Regions from separate parts of the Homo sapiens genome. Here region 1 is linked to region 2. Evidence: promoter capture Hi-C in human tissues and cell types (Jung and others, 2019). All regions are on one chromosome and are shown on one strand. The core of a region is centred on a gene start or on the middle of the fragment in contact, and the rest is flanking DNA. Distances in the headings are between cores, read along the strand shown.

The links. Contacts are between HindIII fragments. The study calls those that stand out against the background at their distance.
Region 1: a fragment that was not itself captured here is called in contact with the fragment with the promoter of PRICKLE1 in region 2 in 3 of the 25 tissues and cell types used here (dorsolateral prefrontal cortex, mesenchymal stem cells and mesendoderm cells).

Annotation. Positions count from the first base shown.
Region 1 is chr12:42,961,528-42,968,644 of GRCh38, forward strand. No RefSeq gene overlaps it. Among named protein-coding and RNA genes, the nearest start is that of LINC02461, 190 kb to the right of the region's middle. RefSeq lists an enhancer at 1-291. The HindIII fragment of the contact is 5,134 bases long and covers 3,276-7,117 here.
Region 2 is chr12:42,585,700-42,593,045 of GRCh38, forward strand. It overlaps PRICKLE1 (prickle planar cell polarity protein 1), which reads right to left and starts at 4,047. Exons shown (of 8, transcript NM_153026.3): 1 at 3,766-4,047. RefSeq lists a silencer at 4,051-4,300 and an enhancer at 4,770-5,327. The HindIII fragment of the contact is 9,160 bases long and covers 1-7,346 here.

The DNA of each region.
Region 1 (7,117 bases), core at 4,593-7,092, 380 kb after region 2:
CACATTCCTTGGCAAAAACAAGCTCCCAAGAATTTTGAGTTCTTAACCTCTACATTTTCTTGGTGGTATGTCATCAACCACACCTGTAGGCACGATCTTTGTTCCTTTAACATTCCATTGAGCTTTGTACAAACAGTTAATCTACCCAACACATACTCTCAATTTTCAGAGTATTGGATGATGCAATAAATATTGAGAGACTTGCAGAGATAAAACAAGCGAAAGCATTCTAGTGATTCTTATTTTTTATTAATTCTGAGATGTCTTTCATAATCTATGAATTTTCTATTTAGGTTTTATTTTGAAAGGCACTGGCCCAGAATAAAGACTCTTATCTCTCATTTCTAGGAAAGGCATTGTGTCTCAGGGTATCCTTACCTTTTTCGGTTTGTTTTCTCCATATTTTGGGCCTGGGAAGGGTAGGAGCTTGATTTTTCTTGTTTTCATATATTCCCAGCAATGCATTTAAAATAAAATTTTATATTTGATTCAGCATTTAGGATCTTATTGTTCAAGGGCTATTGAAAATATTTAGTTCACCATACTTTTTAAATTCGAAGTTTTCTCTAGAAACTCAAAGGAAGTGGAATAAATGAGTATGACTTTATCTCATTCTTTTCAGCTCTATCTCATGCTCTAGCCATAAAACACTCTTTTTTTTTTTGCAATGAATAAACCAGGTATTGCAATCAGTTCATTGATATAATTAGAAAACACATAGAATTCTATTAGATTGTCTTCTATACTTTCTGCAGCACCATTTCCACTCTCAGCCCCCATTTCACTCCCTAAAGCAACTTCCAGTAGCCAGGATATTTTAGTGGTTCTTGTGGCAATAAGAGATGTGACCTGGTCCTCTCCTGAAAGAGTAATAGAAAGTCAGACTTTTTTTTTTTTTTTGGCTTTTTATCCATGCAGTCTTATCTGATAAACCTTGCCTCGTGGAAGAGAGTTTCATGGTGGAACGTGGGTTGGTGTACTGTTGTTAGGGCTCCAGATAGAATTGGGGTTTTATCTAAACAGCCAGAAGGGTCAGTTAAGATACAGAAGTAATGATGATGAGATTGGTAATGATAACAAATACATATCAGTGCTTACTATCTGCCAGGCATTGTTTTATGCATTTTACATATTGAAACCATTTGGCCCAGAAATGATAAAAAGAAGACAAATTTCAGTTTTGTTTTACATTAGCAATAGGTGATTAGTTACATCTGGGCCTTTTTTATATGTTTATTTAGTGAGTTAATAGTTTAGGTTTTTGTTTTAGAGGCAAGTGGTAGGTAAGAATAGGTGTGTCTTCTTTGCATTTAGGACAAAAAAATTGAGAACTACACTAGATACAGAGTTAACTAAATTAAATTAATTAAACTATAACCCTTAGAGCCCTTTCCATCATTTGTATACAACTGGTGTCTATCACCCGGCAAATGAGCAGAGAAGAAAATGAGTTATTGTCTGCCTTTATACCTGCCTGTGTTCCTCTATAATTTTCAGCAAATATTTCTTCTTCTTTTAAGTGTTCCCTCAATGCCAGCTGTTATGTTAAGAACTGAGATGACAATATTGAAAGAGCAAAGAAGGTCACTGGGCTATGGAGGTTTACAATCTGCTGGAGGTTATAGACAAGTAAATGAGAAATTTAAATACAGTTGGATAAAGTAAAAGAGAAATCTCAGTTTCTTCTACTCTCAGATACCTAGTGTCTATTATTTTGAGATTTTGCTATTTCACTATTTTGTGAATTTTGCTTAGTGAATTGCTATTCATAAATTGCTATTAGTGAATTTTGCTATTTCACTATTTTGAGATTTTGCTATTAAAGTAATGTTGAAACATTATACAAAAAAAAAGAATCTGCTATATGGAAATGAGAAAACCTTAAAGAAATTGTGGCTGTGAGTCCATGAACTTCTGCAATGATGATTCCATGGCATGGTGAAATTTTACTTAATAAAATGCATTAGTGCAGACAAGCTGTAGTTTTAACATTCCCATGTGTATAATTTAAGAAGACGGCAACAAATTGGAATAGCACCAAATGAAACTCAGTAATAAGTGTCTGTTGAACGGATGAATAAAGAAAAACAAAACTGACTAAAGAGCTCTTCCTCTTGCCTCTTAGTTGAGAAACATTTGAATTATTCTTTGTAACATGCTTAATTTCATTCCTCATGTTAATGACTGCCTTGCTAGATCTCAATTATTTTTTCAGGTTTAATCTGTCTTTGTAAGAAATTCAGTAATTCTCTTATTTGTTCCGTTTTAGGAACATCTGTTGCAAATCTAGTATTGAGTTTATTTGAAACTAACAGCTGCCCAGTAGCCCATCAAAAGAAATAGCCTAGGTGAAAGCACCCTGTAGATTTCTTTCTAAAAGGTTCAGTTTCTAAAAATTTACCTTTCATTACATTTAAATTATGTGATATGAAACATATAGGGATGGCAACAATTCTCACTGTTAAGCACGATGGATCAGTATTTCGTGCTTATAGTAATCCTGATGTATTTAATCCAAATATTTAGATATTTCAAAGCTACAGAAGAGAAGAAAATGTTATAATTTGAACTTGAGGCCATCTGGCTTATCTGGATCTTGGCTAACACTTTCCAAGTGAAGTGCCCCTGCCTAGACTCTGCAAGTTTCTTTGACAAATTCCCAACTCATGTCTTTCTACAAATTATGTTAAAATAAATTTGAACGGTATAACAGTGAGTCTTTGAGTGGAGTTTGCTTTTCAGAACTAAGCAAACAACAAGCTACTACTAAAATAATCATTAAAAAGAAAACCACAAAACTGCTACCAGACTAGACTCTACAAATCTTGAAGCCTGTGATGCCTGTCTCAGAAGTTTTAGCTAATTTAGCAAGGGGCATTTGTGAAATGCTAGCAAAGACTCCTCTGGCCACATAAAATATGACAGCAATCATATACTCTTTAAACTTTGAATTTGTAGATTTGCTCAACGCCCAAATAGGACTTATGCTCATACAACTTAACTTTTGTGTAGAGTCTACTGTTCTAAGCTTCTACATACTGGCACTGTTCTAAGCTTCTATATACACTAGACAACAATCGTTAGAAGTGAAGACTGTTGCTAACCTCAGGTTGTAAATGAGCAACTGAAGTCGAATAACTTATTTATAGTGACACAGCAAATGGATGGGTAAAGTCTAAGGTCACTAAGCTAGCAATGGGAGGGTTAAAATTGAGACCCAGGCCTCTCTAATTCAAAATTCTATCTGCCCTACTGCAGTTGACGGCTCATCTTTTGGCAACTGCCTGCAAGAGTACAAAAGTAACCAAGAAGACACTAAGGCAGAACTCAAAACACAGCAACACTGTGTACCTCTATGGCAATATGCTGCTTCTCTGTTTTTACCCCATCTCCTAAACGTGAAGCCCTTTCTACCTCTTGCCTCTCTGCTCATTTCCTTTGGTCCCCACATTGTTTATTCCTACTATACATGAATACAGGCAATTCTTTCTAAAAGCTTATGGGAGACTGATAAAATGTCTACGTTATCAGAAGACAAAAGGGGAATCAAAAAGTATCTAGAAAAAAGGACTTCACAGAGACCAAAATATATTATTCAGACCTCAAAATCAGGTTTTGTTTTACAGTACTATTTCAATAAACTGACTATAGAGAATCATTAATTGATGACATTCTAGATTTGGAAAGAACCATAGAGAGAATCAAGTCAATCTCTTCACTGTAAAGTTGAAAGAAATGTGGCCTAGGGAGCAGAGATGACTTGTCCAAGATGACAAAGCCAGCAAGTGGCAGACCTGAGACTTCGCCATGGGGACCTTCAGGCTCAACTCATGTTCTCTCCTCTGACTCCTTGTTACAGAAACCCCCTCCTCGGCACACAGGATGGCTGCTTGGCCTCTCTTCACTGAGATTCCGTGCCTTGCTGAATGAGGCAGTGTACCTTGCCTTTAGGACTTGGAGTTCTAGAATTAGGTAGACTTGGGTTCAAATCCTGACTCTGCTGCTTGCTAATTGCATGAATCAAGTCTTAGTACTTACCCCCTTTAAGACTCCATTTCCTCCCCTGTAACATGAGAATGATACTACATGCTTCCTGCGGGTGTTGAGAAGATTAAAGGAAATAGTAGTTAATGTTTATAGATTCCTTGCTCTGTGTCATATTCTGTGCCAAGTATTTTATGATTATTTTTTTCATGTAATCCTTAAAAAGTACATAAAGTGCTCAGGCCATATAACAATAAATATGTTTGTTTGCATGCAAAGAGACACATACCCATACATGTATCAATTAGGAATCACACACACGCACACACACACACACACACACACACACGCACACACAGGGAATTTCATTTAAGCTTTGACTACATTGGCTTAAATAAATGTAGTCCTGTGGTAGGCAGTCCAGGGCCCTTGTGGTTGCCTCATGAAGCTCCAGGGACTCACACTCTTCCTGTCCTTCTGCCCTGCCAAAATCTTAGAAGACTGACACTCTCAAGGTCACAGGATGGCTGCTCAGTCACACCATCTGTGCTTCAGGTGCTTAAATAGCAGGAAGGGAGATGGGAAGGAACAGGAGGGCAAAACATGTTCTTCTGGAAGTGCTGCCCAAAGACATGTAAGTGCTCCTGTTTTCATATTGGCAATATTCCCTCTATAGGAAAGGCTGGGAAAGGTAATTTTTATTTGGGCATATTCTAACCCCAAGTATATGAAATGAGCAGGTAATTGGCAGTTTCTGTCATGTGTTTTTCAAGTCCAGATGAAGACTTACAACTCTCTCCAATCTATTGAGGAGGTTACTGTATATACAGACTGTGTATGTATATTTTATTATAAAGAAACCATGGCTATTTATTACATGTAGATGTGGGGTCTTAGTATATGTAGAGGTCAGGCATGTAAATATGATTGCTACATCATCTCAGAATTGGTAGCTGGGATTTAGGGCAAGGCCTCAGAAAAAAAAATTGTCAAACAACAAAATAGTTTGTTGTGTGTTTGAGTCACCAAAGCAGGATTCAGAAAGGAATACAACAGCAGAGCAGAGGCAAATCAGCTAGAAATGTGATCACAGGAAATCAAAGGAATAGGTGTGTAAGGACATGCCTTGGTAGAGAGAAATTATCTAGGAAAGGGAGCCATATATAGAAGGAGGAGTTCTGGAGAGTCTGAAAGGTACTCCAGCTCAAGAAGTTAGGAAGCTGTTTGAGGGGTAGTGAGACTTAACCTTGAGGTCAACACAGGGAGAAACTGCGAAGAGGTGGCCTGGCCTCCTCACTGATAGAAGGAGTGTGTGTGTGTGTGTGTGCGCGCGCGCGTGTGTGTGTGTGCGTGCGTGTGTGTGTGTGTGCGTGTGTGTGTGTGTGAGAGAGAGAGAGAGAATGAGAGAATAAATCTCCAGTTCTCCATTTCATTCTGGGGTCAGGAATGAGGTGAGAAATAGAAGGAAAATATAATACCTTGTAATAAGTTGCTCCAAGTTAACTGGAGTAATGAATATACATATTTACATTTCATGACATGTAATAAAATAAATTTTCTGCCCTCACTGCCTCTCTGAGCTTAGGCTTTTTTCAACACCCCCTACTCAGGGCCACCGGGGAGGAAAGGAAGAAAGCAGCACAGAGCCAAGTTTGAAGTCCTGGAAGAGAATCTCCTGAGACATTGGCTGAGGAACACAGAAAGTTACTTGTGGCAGAATCTTTCTGGAATTTTTCCATTCTGGGATACTCTGAGCCCATTTTGTCACAGGTCATCATGACTTGATGAATGAATATCATATTGGTTAATTCCTGCGGCTTAATAAAATCCTTTGTTCAAGAACAGCATGAAATTTTCAGAGTGTATCGACTCCTTGTTAGCTATGATTGAGACTAAGAGTGCCTGGCACATAATAATCACTCAATAAAAATTTAATTAAATTTATTAATAAAATAAATGAATGCAGAATTATCTAGAGAGCATTTAGTATGGCTCCAGTAAATGGCAATATGGTTATAATATGTTTACTTAATCGCTATTAATAGTGCTAGAAAAAACTAGCTTTATAAAGTACAATTTGAGTTTTTATTTTCTAGCATTGGTTGCGACCATTATGGTCAGACTCCTTCCATGGGGTGAAACAGTACCTTGAAAGAAAAACACAAAAAATCACTTTAAAATGTGTTGGTTTCTTGTTAAAGTGCCCTGAAACCATATCACTTTTTAAAAATCTATTCATGAGAATAAGAAAATCATTCTCCATGACCTCCATGAAGAAAACAAAGAACAGGTTAAATTATATTTAATATTTTACAGATATTCATAACAGATTGTCTAAAAAGCCTTTCCTGACTTTATCTTCTTTGTTCCCCTAAACATTTTTTTAAAGGATAAGCCTTAGAGACATAGATTTGATTAGCTCAATGTCTGTCCTACTTTACATACTTGAGTGTTCATTCATGCAATGAGAGTATGGCCCTGCTATGTTCAAGGCAGTGTGTCAAATAAGATCTGGTTCCTGCTTTTAGGGAGCTTTCAGTCCGCAGGAAGATAAGGATAAATAATCATTTAAAACATAGTGCTTTTACATGAAAGATAAAGATAAGTAATCAGTTAAAACATAGTGCTATTATGTGATATAAGTACTGAAATACAATGACGGTACATGTTATAATGGTGATTTGCATAAGATCCTCTTGCCATATAGAGGTGGTTCAGCGTAATTTTTTTAAGAGCTCAAACATGGGTATTTGAAGTCTGGTTTCTAATACTACCTATACCCCTCACTAGCTGTGTGATGTTAGGCAAATTACGTTGTCTCTCAGTCTCCTTATCTGTAAAGTGAAGACAACAGTAGTATTCATCTCAAAAGGTGTTTTGATTTTATGAGATATACTTATTATGAAATCACTTAGAATAAAATAAAAACTCCTTGCAATCATGCTAGATTCCAGTCTCTGCCCCTCTCATCAATCTCATCTTTCTCACCCTCTCCTTTACTTGTTACACACCAGCCACACTTTCTCTATGTCCTGTAATATACCAAGTCTTCCCTACTTTGGGCCTTAGAACATGCTGACTCCTTTTCTGAAATGCTCTAATACCCCAACTCCCACCAACTAATGGTGACTCA
Region 2 (7,346 bases), core at 2,797-5,296:
CTCAGATTCCCCATACAATTTTAGGCCAGGCTTTTTTCACTGCTCCAAAATGTTCATTCATCAACACGTAGGTAATTAACCTCCACTTCAGTTCAGCATGACCATAAACAAGGGGATGTGATTACCAGTTACTGGGGCAGATGAAGCGCTACATTTCTGTGTGTCCAGAGATGGGGAAGTCAGAGGCTTGGGGCTGCTCCAGATTCCTCAATGCCATCTTGGTCCTTGGAACGTGCTGTGGAGCGCTGGCTCCATAGGCTGCATGAGGTTTCGAGGAACTGCAACAATGCAGGACTTGGTGCCCAGATTACTGTACTTCCCTCTCTCAACTTGCTTGCTCACACCAACCTTCTAAAGATATTATTGTGCAATCCAATAATCCTTTCTTCTGTGACCAGAAGAAAAAGAAGTAATGGTCCCTTAAAACACCAATCGACCAACCAAGCAACCCAGAAACACAATCCTTTCACTTTCCTAACTCCTTCTCTTTATTGTGGAATAATCATACATAGATTTAGGCAATCTTAATATTCTCTCACTAATAAGGGTTAAACAGTTGGTATTATTTTACATAACATGGAGATGAGAGAGACAGCTATTTTTTCCAAGGGGGAAGAGTCTATCCTAGTCAAATGATACTTTTAACATTTCTATTCACAGATGAGAATCACTTTGATTTTTTAAAATTACCTTTTTTTTTTTTTTTCCCCAGAGATGGGGTCTAACAATGTTGGCTGGGCTGAACTTGAACTCCTGGGCTCAAGCGATCCTCCCCAGTAGCTGGGGCTATAGAGCCAAGCACCACTACATGTAGCTTTCCTGTCTTTCTTTAAAAGGAAAAATTTGCTCTTTATAAACTATTTTAACCAGGAAATTAACTGCAGTAAGTAGAATATAAGTAATGATAATCTTTACTGAAAATTGTTTCCCATGATATTAGAGAGCCCAAAATATAGGTATAGGCCATTAAGAGAGTTACTTAATTACTGGAAAATACTTTGTAAAGATTCTTGTTCCATTTCATGAGTATTATAGACAATCACTCATAATACTTAATTCTTTGTATTTTGCTTTCAAGTAATTATAAGAGATTTTAGAGAAATTATGATGCAACTTTTAAAACTTATAATTCAGCTTACTTTTTAAAAGCCTTAATCAAAGAAACTGCAAAATTTAACTTTTTTGGTCTTTTCAGAATTATCAAAAGAGAGAATATTAGGAACAACTAGACTTACCTACATCTGACTCTAAAGTTAAGAGTTCAGCTATTAACCCTATAGGAGATCTTTATTTCTCCCTAGCTAATATTAGATTTTATCTGGGGGACTCAAGCTGACTTATTACACCACCACACACCATGGACAAATAGTGCTTCCATGGACCTTGATTATAAAAACATAATAAGCTTTTTAAGCTTCACTGGTGTTACTGGCAGAACTGATTGAATCTGTCACTTTAGTAAAATATATCATTTTTCTTTTTAAAACCTATGAACCAACAGGCTCACTCGGTGATAACTCGCCAATTAGTACCAAATTAAAGATGGAAAAATTAATTTACTAAGCCCATTCAGTTGCATCAATATGTCTATCTCTATAAACTATCCAGTTTTTCCTTCCTTTTTCCCTCCCTCTCTCCATCCCTCCCTCTTTTCCTTCCTTCCTTCCTTTTGAGGCTTATTTATAAGAATGAATCATACTACATTAGCCATGACTTATTAAACTTGGAGATTTTCAAGTTCATCAGCAAGTGTGCAAACCCTTAACTGTGGGTAACATCCATTTATTTGTAGCACCTTTCGGTTTTAATATGTAGAGCACATGCATTGTTAACCTCTAAATCCTTTGTATAAACATTTCTGGAAGAGCTGGTAAAATATCTCCTTCTGTGTTTCCTGACTCGCCAGTTGATGGCATTTAGAAACCCTCTGGTACCAGCAGGTGCTGTATTTTGCTTTCTTCAGGCTCCAGCTGGGCTACAATGACAGATTCCTGTCCCAGGCCAAGCCTAGCCACCAAGGCTAGGACCACATTGGAGGCAAACTGAACCAGGCTCCACCAGACAGCAAGATGAATGGCTGCTGTTTAAGTTTAAAATCCCCTGGTGGGAGTAAATATTGTTCCAGAGAAAAGCCTTGACAAATACTGCGTCATCCTTACAGAACTGTCTTGATTAAAGCAGAATCTTTGGATTAAGTTGATGCTCAATTCAAAATGTATCTATCTTGCTGTCATGGGATTTTTTTTTGTTTTTTTTTTCCTTTCTAGAGTCTGAAAACAGACATAATGTTGGGGACGGTCAAACAAGGCTGCCGGCTCCCAAGGGGCTAGAGTCCACTCCTGATAATAGAAGGCGGCTGAACACTGACACTTCACTGAGGATAATGGAGACAGCAAAGGCTTAGTGGGAAAGGGCCAGTTGTCACCTAAGTGACAGGCAACAGCTGAGCTCACACATCTGGAGCCGGACTACGGCAAACATTAGCAACCCTCACCAGTCTACACCTTGGGCCTGTCTGAAAAGACAGATGGAAGTTCCCTCTACTCCTAAAGTACATTAAAAAATGTCTGATGGTGAACCACATCAATTATATAACATCAACTGCAGGCACAGCCTTCCAAAGTACTGATTAAGACGAGGCAGTAGACAACACTGTATGCATGAACAGATACAAGATACCATTTCAGTGATTTGTCATTCATAAAACTTATCCTAAAAGACACATATACATGCATCCATTTGATAGCACAAATGCATGTTAACTCTGCAGGAGAGGCAGATTTTTACATGTTTTTTTGGTTGTAGTTGTTGGTGCTTTTTTTTTTTCCTTTAGGCTGGTTCCCGTGGTGTGTTTGCCTTGTTCATGGTCTCAGTTCTGCCGCTGATACCCTTTTAAAAATCAGCAACCAAACGCGTTCGGCTTGTGATCCTGAACCCTCCTTAGGCAAGCTGGAACTAAGCGTGATGCAGCCGTCCTCCCTCTCTCCCAACCCCCAACCTCGTTCTTCAGCCTCCTGAAGACAATCTGTGAACAATTTTCCCAAAGTCCCAAGAATAACACAGCACTGCCAATAGTCACTGGCGATGCCGTTTGTTTTTCTTAGAGGGTAATGAAAATTTAACAGCTTTCTGCTGCATCCTGAGTCCCGCTCCTAATAACTATTAACATGCCTAGTTTCTTCAACTTTTTCTACCTCAAGAGAGGAAGACGCTCCCATTTTTTCCCTATATCTGTGCTACATTCAGCAAACACCATCGCGGGGCAGGGGGTTGGGGAGAGTGGTGGGAGTTGATTCGCCTCTGCCAAAAAGCCACCAGCCCCTTTCCCCAGCGCTAGAGGAGAGAATCGGTACCCTCCCTCCGGACGCCAGTAGGTGACAGGCGATCCTAAGCGGCGGGAACACGCCAACGCACCCTCGCCTCCCGGCGCCCCGCATCGCCTCGACCCTCGGGCTACAGAACCTGTTTCCACGCCGGAGAAAACCAAGGGAAGAGTTGGTTGTGATGCAGCAAACAGGAGCCATGCGGAGAGCCTCTGCGGAGCCCTGGCGATGCTGCAGCCAATATCTGCTTTCCCTGTCTACACAGCCCAACAAACCGATTATGACCTTCTCCCTGATCTTCTGCGACACCGACCCAGTCTGGGTGTCACAGACTCCGGCGGTGCCAGCGAAGGTGCCCGGCCCTACCCCTGCGGCGCTCGCCCCCCACCACCGCGCCGCAGCCCCCTCTGCGGAATCCGCCGGGATCCAGGCTGCCACTCACCTCGCGCGAGGGAGACGCAACTCGGCTGCACTGTCCTCGGCGCCGCTGCGGGGCTGCTGGGCTGCGGGGCTGCGGGGCTGAGGAGCTGCGGTCCGCGGCGTCAGGGGTGGGCGAGGGTGAGCAGCGCACGAACCATCCAGAGCCCAGAAAGTCTCCGTGCCGACCGCGGCGCGTCTCGGGGAAGTCAGCGCAGGCTGCGCGAGGCTGGCATGTTCCGGGCGCGCTGTCGGGCGGCGGCGGCCGCGGGAGACGGCGCTGGCAGCTGGGCTGCAGGCGGAGTGCGCTCGGGCTCCGGAGCCGCGCGCTGCGGCGCCGCCGCGCACCCCGCCCTCGGCCGCGGGGCCCGGCGCGAGCGAAAACGCGGAGCGCGGACGCCGCCGCGGGATCGAGGCCGCTGGGCGCGCGCCCACGCGTACCCCGGCTCGGCCCTGAAAGCGAGGTCGGGCCCGGCTCGGGCCGCGCCCGGGGGCAGGGCTGCGAGCAGGCCTGGGACCGGCTCCACGCGCAGCCAGTGGGGCAGAGCAGCAGGCGGATTATGCGCAGGGAGAAAAAAGTTCACCAACCGCGGTCCAGAGTCGCAAGTGCGGCTCGCTCGGAGCCTCTGCCCCGCCCCCGATTATAAGCCTTTTTTTTTTTTTTTTTTTAACCAACAATCCCGATGGACTGAAACACAGGAAGAGTGAAGGGACGGGGTGGGGGGTGGGGGAGAGACAAACCCAATTTCCTCTGATCAAACGATTTGGGTAGGGGTGCCTATTTGAGTTCCTTCTCCTTCGGGGGGTGTGTGAAGGGGGCAGTTAATTAAACACTTAGATTCCTTCCGGCGCGCCTTGCCGAGCTGGGGACCCGTTTGGACTCGATCCTGTCTCGTGTAATCCCACAGGCTGGTCTGAGTCTCTGCCCCGGAACCGGAGGAGTGATCTTTCAGAGCAAGAAGCCAAAGTTCAGCCTCTAGTCCGTTCCCTTCCCCGCCTCGACGGCCCTGGTCGTCTCCATGAAAACTCAGTGTGGGGGATCGTGCCCGCGAAAACCTCAGCCCACCGCAATGTCCAGAGCCTGACCCAAGTGAACGTGGCGCACTTAAAAGCGGGTTCAAAGCATTGATCCGAACACGGTGACAATTTTTCACTGGCCAAACTACTCTCCACATTTTCAGTCTGCTCAATTCCCAGAGCTGGGCTCTCAGGCGCACTCACCCACGTTGAACTGGGGCTCAGCCTGTTTGAAAGTTCTGCCCTGACATTTGTGTCACACTAAACCTTAGAACCCCCCACCCTCTCCAGTTCCGGATCGGTGGAGTCTCACCGTGTGGGTACTATTTCCCTGGACTGCAGAGGGCAGACACAGGCGGCAGCTGTTAACCCGAACTTGACAGGTGCCTCTGCAAAGCCAGGGCTTCCTTGACCTCTCCATCCTCTCCACAACGCTCTAGGATACTGTATCATCTTCCAGGAAGATGAGGATGTGTGTGGGGGGAGTGTGGAGGGAGGTGTTGACTGATGCAATTTTTATCCTTTTAAGAAAAATCAAAACTGCCAGTCTCAGAATTTCTCAGAACATCAAGTCTTTTCGATTTTCGTTGGGAATAAAGCAAAGGAATACTCAGCAAAAATGGAGCCGATGAAAAGAGAATGCAAGGAAATAAAGGCAAATGGAGGAGGAAACTGTCTAAATCCAGGAAAATGTATGGCTTCAGCACTGTGCTCTATAATTCTGACTCAGATCTCCCCACGCTGTAGATACTTTCTCCTGTCTAGATGCCCAGGCAGAGTTCCTGAGCTCAGATCACTCAGGAAACAAGGCTGTTGCTTTTGAAATAATTCCACTTGCTAGCGTTGTTTTTTTTTTTTTTTTTTTTTTTTTTTTTTTTTGAGACGGAGTTTCGCTCTTGTCACACAGGCTGGAGTGCAGTGGCGCGATCTCCGCTCACTGCAACCTCCGCCCCGCCCCCGTGTTGAAGCGATTCTCCTTCCTCAACCTCCCGAGTAGCTGGGATTACAGGCACCTGCCACCGCGCCCAGGTAATTTTTGTATTTTTAGTAGAGACAGTTTCCCCATGTTGGCCAGGCTGGTCTCGAACTCCTGACCTCAGGTGACGAGAATCTGGGAAAGAACAAACCAGGTTTTCTTGCCCCTCAGCATTTTATTGGAATTGGCCTTTGAAGTTGTGTCTGTTTATCTTGCTGGGGTTACAAATGCTTCTATTAAGCTATCAACTTTTAGGTTCTATCTAACCTCCAGAACTGCCAAAGAAAATTTCACTACCTCCATAGGTGAAATAAATCTTATTGCTGTACAGTGACTTCACAAAGGTTTTGTTTGTTGAGCATCTATTATGTGGAGCAGACACCCTGAGCACTGTGGATGATACATGGTCATTCCCTCTGGAGGATTACTGCCTCTTTGGACTGTGTGCTGGGCAGCATCTTTTGGATCCATTGCAAAGGTGAATACTTGGCCTTCAACCAGGACTCATAAAATTACTCCGGCCAGTGCATGTGATGGTCTGAGGTCACAACAGTCTGATTTCAAATTTCAGCCCCACCGCTTACCAAATGTAGCCTGGGGTAATGTAGTTAACCTCTCTCAGGCTTAGTTTCTCATTGGTAAGTGAGGGTAATAATATTCAGCTCAGGGAACTGTTGGGAAGATTGAATGCTGCAGAAATCACTGGAACGTTTGTATTTCATTTTATAAGGCATCTTCTCACAAGCACCCTTCTCTATAGCAGCCTCCATGCAAAATCCCACAAGTAGAAAAGAACTGTTTTTTATTTAATCTGAAAAAGCATTCTTCATTGTGAACTCTTGAATTGCTCCTGGGTCTCTTTTTCTTTTTTCTGAGTCTGTTTTATTAATGGTGTTATTTTCTTTGTCTTTACAAAGCAACATGATGTCATACCTTTTGTAAGAAATCAATTCACTTAGAGAATGTCTACTTTTCTTTTTTGAGACACCCTTGATCTGTCACCCAGTCTGGAGTGCAGTGGTGATCACAGCTCACTTCAGCCTCAAACTCCTGGGCTCAAGTGATCCTCCCGCCACAGCCTCCCGAGTAGCTGAGACTACAGGCATGCACTACCGTACGTGGCTAAGTAACTTCTTTTTATTTTATTTATTTATTTGAGATGGAGTCTTGCTCTTCGCCCAGGCTGGCGTGAAATGGCACGATCTTGGCTCACTGCAAACTCTGACCCCAGGGTTCATGCAATTCTCCTGCCTCAGCTGCCCGAGTAGCTGGGACTACAGGTGCATGCCATCACACCCAGCTAATTTTTGTATTTTTAGTACAGACGGGGTTTCGCCATGTTGGCCAGGCTGGTCTTGAACTCCTGACCTCAAGTGATCCACCTGCCTTGGCCTCCCAAAGTGCTAGGATTACAGGCATGAGCCACTGAGCCTGGCTGCAACTTCTTTTTAAAAATAACATTTTTGTGTGTTGAATTGTGTCCTCCAAAACTTCATGTTGAAGTCCTTAACTGCAGTACCTCAGAATGCAACCTTATTTGGAGATAAGGTCTTTGCAGAGTTAATCAAGTTAACATGAGGTCACTAAGTTCAGTCCTAATCCAATATGATTTT